Linked DNA regions of Homo sapiens: region 2 is linked to region 1. The links are contacts of gene promoters, found by promoter capture Hi-C in blood cells and fetal thymus (Javierre and others, 2016). All regions are on one chromosome and are shown on one strand. The core of a region is centred on a gene start or on the middle of the fragment in contact, and the rest is flanking DNA. Distances in the headings are between cores, read along the strand shown. Region 1 holds the start of SEPHS2 (selenophosphate synthetase 2). Region 2 has its middle 11 kb from the start of ZNF785.

Region 1 (3,256 bases), core at 360-2,859:
AGCCGGAACCACTATGCAGGCAGCCTTCTTTGGAAATTTCTTACAATCAACTCTTGAGAACCATCCGTGATTGTGGACAATGGCTCTAAGGTCCAAACAACTTCTGTTCTTTCATCTCACGAGCTAGGCTCAGAGGAGGCATTTGAACTGTCAGGAGCAAGAACAGCAGCTGTGGCCCCACGAGGCAGGACTTCAATAACTCGCGGCTTGTCAATGATCCGGGCCGTTCGGTTTCCCTTTTCCACAATGCCAACGATCCACGCTTGGTGACCCTCTCCGTACTTGGAGGATTTGATTTCAGAACAAAAGCGAGCCGCCTGTTCTCTTGGCAGACAAATCAGTAATCCCCCAGAGGTTTCAGCTGAGGTTCCTTGAAGAAGCCCAAACCGTCCACTGGCCTTGCTGACGGCAGCCATCTTGGCAATTATTGGCAGATTATGAATAACAAAGGACACTTCATTTCTTTGTTGTTTTGCAAGGTTCTGGGAGTGTCCTAGAATGCCAAAGCCTGTGATATCTGTGGCCGCATGGGCATTAAATGTGTGCATTAAACCTGCAGCAGTTCTGTTGAGGGTAGCCATATTGAACATGGCTTCCTGATAGGCCAGCTCCACCTCTTCTCTGGAGACCACCATCTTTACTTTATTCCATCTTTCAGGATTATCCAGCCATTGGTGGGCATTGACAGCAACCTGGGTTCCTAACGGTTTGGTTAACACCAGCACGTCCCCAACGACGGCGCTGTCCGGCATTATGAACTCATTTGGTTGGCATACTACAGTGGCAACTCCACCGATTATAATCCAAGGGTTGACCACCGTTTGCCCACCGGTCACTGCCGTCCCTCCTTCCTCAGCCGCATCCCGAAAGCCTTTGACCATGAGTGGCGTTACCTTTTCGCGTTCCTCCTCACTCATACTCTGGCTGACGCTGAGTAACATCAACATGTTGTCACACTCAGTAATCCCCATGGCGTAGAGGTCACTCAGCACGTTGGCACAAGCTATGCGCCCCATCATGTAGGGATCTTCTACCAAGGGGTAAAAGAAGTCCGTGGTCTGCACCAGTGACAGGCCCCCGTGCCTCAGGGGGATGACGCAGGAGTCCATCCCGATGCCCAGGGCTGGAAAGGTGGGGCTGGGGCCCGCTCCTGCCGGCAGGCCGGCTTCCTGGGACGCCTCTTCCTGGCCACCCACCAGGCCCCGGCCCAGCGGGGGCCGCACGTCCGGCCGCGTCAGTCCCGCCAGGAGTTTGAGCAGCGCCTCCTGCGGGACCTTGCAGCCTCAGCCCTTCATGCCGGAGAAGCCCGTCAGCCGCCAGCTCGGGCTGAGGCCCAACGCCTGGGGCTCGAAGGGCCGGTAGTTCGAGAAGCTCCGGCCCAGAGTCAAGCCCGCCGGGCCCGAGGAGCCTTCCGCCGCTGCCATCGCCTCTCCGCAGGCGCCCGTCGCCGAGGCTTCCGCCATGGCGCCTGCCCGGCAGGGAAGCGAGAGGAGAAGAGGGCCCTTTTATTTTCCACTCAGATTAATATGAAGCAAAAGTCAAATATTACCTGCAGGGATTCTCCCTAGCGCTACTCAAGCCGTCAGACCCACGGCATGCACAATCTTCCTGATAGAGGAGCCGCCGGACTCCCTTATTTATAGCCCTGGCGATTGACAGCCGCAACATCCAATGACGACTCCGCCACCGAGAGGCGGGCTTCCTAGACTCTAAAAGGTGCAACAACCTCCGGCTTGCAAAACCGCTTGCAACGGGATTGCAGAACGTCACGTGCTTTCCTTCGCTCTCTTAGTAATTTAAATGGTTTCTTGGCAGTGGCTGACGGAACTCTGCTCCCTTCCAGTCACTTTTCCAAGTCCAGCAAATTGTAGACGAGGGAAGATTGGTCACTCGGCAAACCTCATGATCGGCAGGATTGTCCCAAAGGTCACTTGACAGCGCACATGATCGATCCAGGATGGCAAAATAGCCCAAGGGAAAAAACAGAAAGCATGAGAAATTAGAAATTAAACTACTACCATTAAGTTAGCAAACTGCAGGCAGCATCAATATAATGAAATGTTAACAGGAACTTCAAGAACTCTAGGACTCAGGAGGTCGAGGCTGCAGTGAGCTGCGTCCGCGCCACTGCACTCTAGTCTGGGCGACAGAGCAAGAACCTGTCTCTAAAACAAACAACAATAACAAACAAACAAACACCCCCCCCACACACACAGACACACACAAAAAGAGAGATTTAGGACTGGAAGTCCAGACACCTGCATGGATTCTAATGGTGTTTCCCACCAGCTTTGTGTGGAGTCACTCTCCGCGTCGGTTGACTCATCCATCTGTGGAACAGAGTGGGTTACATAGGACTGGTCTATTCTAAAATTCCTATATCTCTGTAAATAAATATATATATATATCTTATATAGCCATGAAGGGCAGTTTGCCAATATCTATTAAAAACTCCACCTCCCAGGTTCAAGTGATTCTCCTGCTTCAGCCTCCTGAATAGCTGGGATTACAGGTGTGCGCCACCACACCCGGCTTATTTTTGCGTTTTTAGTACAGACGGGATTTCACCACGTTGGCCAGGCTGGTCTCAAACTCCTGACCTCAAGTGATCTGCTGGCCTCGGCCTCCCAAAGTGCTGGGATTACAGGCATAAGCCACCACACCCAGCCAATAAAAACTTTTTTAAAAGACAAGAAAATGAATAGAAGACTCAGCATAGGGGCTATGTCTAGGGAGGGCTACATAGGGAGCTTCTGGGCTATGTTTAATTCTGTTCATTGGGCTGGTGGTGGGTACGTGGTACATGGTTGTTCTTTAAACTGTACATAGATATTTTCGGGGCCGGGCACAGTGGCTCACACCTGTAATCCCAGTACTTTGGGAGGCCGAGGCGGGTGGATCACGAGGTTGGGAGATCGAGGCCAGCTTGATCTATATGGTGAAACCCCGTTTCTACTAAAAATACAAAAATTAGCCGGGCATGGTGGTGAGCGCCTATAATCCCAGCTACTCGGGAGGCTGAGGCAGGAGAATTGCTTGAACTTGGGAGGCAGAGGTTGCAGTGAGCCAAGACTGCACCACTGCACTCCAGCCTGGGTGAAAGAGCGAGACTCTGTCTCAAAAAAAAAAAAAAAAAAAACTGCACATAGATATTTTCCCACACTATTTTTGTAGGTATGCTATATTTCAGAATTTAAAAAACATGCAAAAAGAAAGCATGATGGAGTGGGAAAATACAGTGAAAGCAAAAGACCTT
Region 2 (3,462 bases), core at 606-3,105, 150 kb after region 1:
TCTTTTCTTTTCTTTTTTTTTTTTTGAGACAGAATCTCACTCTGTCGCCAGGCTGGAGTACAGCGGCAGAATCTCAGCTCACTGCAATCTTTGACTCCCTGGTTCAAGCGCTTCTCCTGCCTGAGCCTCCCTAGTAGCTGGGATTATGGGCACATGCCACCATGCCCAGCTAATTTTTGTATTTTTAGTAGAGACGGGGTTTCACCATATTGGCCAGGATGGTCTCGAACTCCTGACCTCGTGATCTGCCTGCCTCAGCCTCCCAAACTACTGGGATTACAGGCATGAGCCACTGTACCCAGCCACATGAGGCAACTTTCTAGGATGATGGTAATGTTATGTATTTGGATAGGGGTTTCAGTTACAGATGTATACGTCTTTGTCAACACTCAGCAAATATACACTTAAAGTTTGTGCATTTTATGTACTTTTAACTCAAAAAATATATAAAACAAACGTGGAGCTCTAGTTAATGATATGCATGTTGAAATGTTTACGGGTGAAGTGTACTGATTTCAGCAATTTTTTTTACATGCACCCAAAAACAAAGTGTACTGGTAGAGTAACTGATAGTTACATGATAAAGCAGATACACTAAATGTTAGTGATAGAATCTAGGTGGTGAGTATATGGGTATTCTCTGTAAAAGTCCTTCAACTTTACTGTGTCTTTCAAAACTTTTAAAATGAATGGTGGCTGGGTGCAGTGGCTCACACCTGTACTCCTAGCACTTTGGGAGTCTGAGGCAGGTGGATCGCCTAAGGTCAGGAGTTTGAGACCAGCCTGGCCAACATTGTGAAACTCCATCTCTACTAAAAATACAAAAATTAGCTGGGCATGGTAGCTCATGCCTGTAATCCCAGCTACTCTGGGAGGCTGAGGCCCGAGAATCGCTTGAACCTGGGAAGTGAAGGTTGTAGTGAGCCAAGATCGCACCATTGCACTCCAGCCTGGGCAATGGAGTGAGACTTCATCTCAAAAGAAAAAAAAAAGCAAAACCACTATTGAGAATGAAAAGACACTCCACAGAATGGGAGAAAATATTTGTAAATCATGTGTCTAATAAGGGATTAATATTCAGAATTTATAAATAACTCCGGTAACTCAACAACCACTAAAAAATAAAAACCCAATTTAAAAGCAGGCAAAGAGGCTGGGCACGGTGGCTCACACTGTCATCCCAGCACTTTGGGAGGCCAAGACAGGCAGATCACTTGAGGCCAGAAATTCGAGACCAGCCTAGCCAACAGAGATGATGAAACTCCATTTCTGCTAAAAATACAAAAATTAGCCGGCATTGTGGCACAGACCTGTAATCCCAGCTACTCAGGAGGCTAAGGCATGAAAATCACTTGAGCCTGGGAGGTGGAGGGTGCAGTGAGCCAAAATGGCACCACAGCATTCCAACCTGGGCAACAGAGCAAGACACCACTCAAAAAAAGAATTAAAAAAAAAAAAGATGAAAGCAGGCATAGGATTTATATAGACATTTCTCCAAAGAAGATATACAGATGAGCTGGGCGTGGTGACTCACGCCTGTAATCCCAGCACTTTGGGAGGCTGAGGCAGGTGAATCACCTGAGATCAGGAGTTCAAGACCAGCCTGGCCAACATGGTGAAACCCCATCTCTACTAAAAATACAAAAAAAAAAAAAAATTAGCCGGGCGTGGTGGCGCACGCCTGTAATCCTAGCTACTTGGGAGGCTGAGGCAGGAGAATTGCTTGAACCTAGGAGACAGAGGTTGCAGTGAGCCGAGATCTTGCCGTTGCACTCCAGCCTGGGCAACAGAGTAAGACTCTATCTCAAAAATAATAAATGAATAAACACACAAACAAACAAATAATAAATAATTATCACTTTTTTGCATTTTCCCAATTTCTTTACTGATTATTTTTGGGATTTGGAAAAAACATAAGGCCGGGCGAGGTGGCCCACACCTGTAATCCCAGCACTCTAGGAAGCCAAGGCAGGAGGATTGCTTGAGCCCAGGAGTTCGAGACCAGCCTGGGCAACATGGAGAAACCTCATCCCTACAAAGAATACAAAAAAATTAGTTGGGTGTGGTGGCACATGCCTGTGGTCCCAACTACTCAGGAGGCTGAAGCAGGAGGATCACTTGAGCTCAGGGAAGTAGAAGCTGCAGTGAGCCATGATCACACAACTGCACTCCAGCCTGGGCCACAGAGCAAGACTCTTTCTTGCTGGGAAGGAATTCTCACATGTACGCACTAGCAGAAGCCACAAGCGGCACCAGGAAGACTAGAAGAATGCGGGGCATGAAAGCTAAGTTACAAGAGAGCTTAAGTAGGAAAACTAAGGTATGTAAGATAAAAATTGAAGCACTGATTTGTTAACTAGGTCATCAGTTATCTTAAAGGACAGTCTTAGAATAATTGCATGGCAGCTGACTTTACAGTCACCCAGATATGTGATCCTGGACAAGTTATTTATTTTTTTTTAAATTTTTTGAGATGGAGTTTTGCTCTTGTTGCCCAGGCTGGAGTGCAATGGCGCAATCTCGGCTCATTGCAACCTTTGCCTCCCGGGTTCAAGTGATTCTCCTGCCTCAGCCTCCCAAGTAGTTGAGATTACAGGCATGTGCCACCATGCCTGGCTATGTTTTTGCATTTAGTAGAGACGGGATTTCACCATGTTGGTCAGACCGGTCTCGAACTCCTGACCTCAGGTGATCCACCCGCCTCGGCCTCCCAAAGTGCTGGGATTATAGGCGTGCACCCTGTGCCCGGTCGACAAGCTATTTAATGTCACTGTGCCTCTGTTTCCTCATCTGGTCAAGGAAAACAATACCTACAGTCAGATCTGGAATTTGAGGCTGCCCTACTTATAGGTTAATAAATGGGTCTGTTATTGTTTCATGGATGCTGTCAGAAAACAGAGACAAAAGACCTTACTGTTCAGGGCACAACAAGCAGCATGAGCATGCCTGCATTGGTTCCCTTCTGCCCCCTGCAGGGGCAATGTGGGATGTGCCCAGATGGATGCTAGACACACAGTGAGTTGCATCATAGGGGAGGAACAGGAAGCTCCTGCTGTTTTTTTCCTTTTTAAAGATGGGATTTGGCTGGGAGCGGTGGCTCACGCCTGTAATCCCAGCACTTTGGGAGGCCAAGGCAGGCAGATCACCTGAGGTCAGGAGTTCGAGACCAGCCTGACCAACATGGTGAAACCCTGTCTCTACAAAAATACTAAAATTAGCTGGGCATGGTGGCAGGTGAGTGTAATCCCAGCTACTTGGGAGGCTGAGGCAGGAAAGTTGCTTGAACCCAGGAGGTGGAGGTTGCAGTGAGCCAAGATCACGCCACTGCACTCCAGCCTGGGTGACAAGAGTGAGACTCCTTCTCTAAATAAATACATAAATAAATAAGATGGGGTCTTGCTATGTTGGCCAGGGTAGTCTCAAACTCCTGGCCTCAAGCAATCCTCCTGCCTTGGCCACCAA

The links. The method cuts DNA at HindIII sites, captures the fragments that hold promoters and counts their contacts. A CHiCAGO score of 5 or more calls a contact.
Region 2: a contact is called between a fragment that was not itself captured here and the fragment with the promoter of SEPHS2 in region 1, in 15 of 17 cell types (erythroblasts, total CD8 T cells, activated CD4 T cells and 12 more). The highest score is 23.3, in erythroblasts.

The regions. Positions count from the first base shown.
Region 1 is chr16:30,444,265-30,447,520 of GRCh38, forward strand. SEPHS2 (selenophosphate synthetase 2) reads right to left here and starts at 1,610. Exons shown (of 1, transcript NM_012248.4): 1 at 1-1,610. The coding sequence starts at 1,463. The coding sequence ends at 117. RefSeq lists an enhancer at 802-1,748 and a silencer at 1,075-1,194. The HindIII fragment of the contact is 8,484 bases long and covers 1-3,256 here.
Region 2 is chr16:30,595,370-30,598,831 of GRCh38, forward strand. No RefSeq gene overlaps it. Among named protein-coding and RNA genes, the nearest start is that of ZNF785, 11 kb to the left of the region's middle. The HindIII fragment of the contact is 4,017 bases long and covers 1-3,462 here.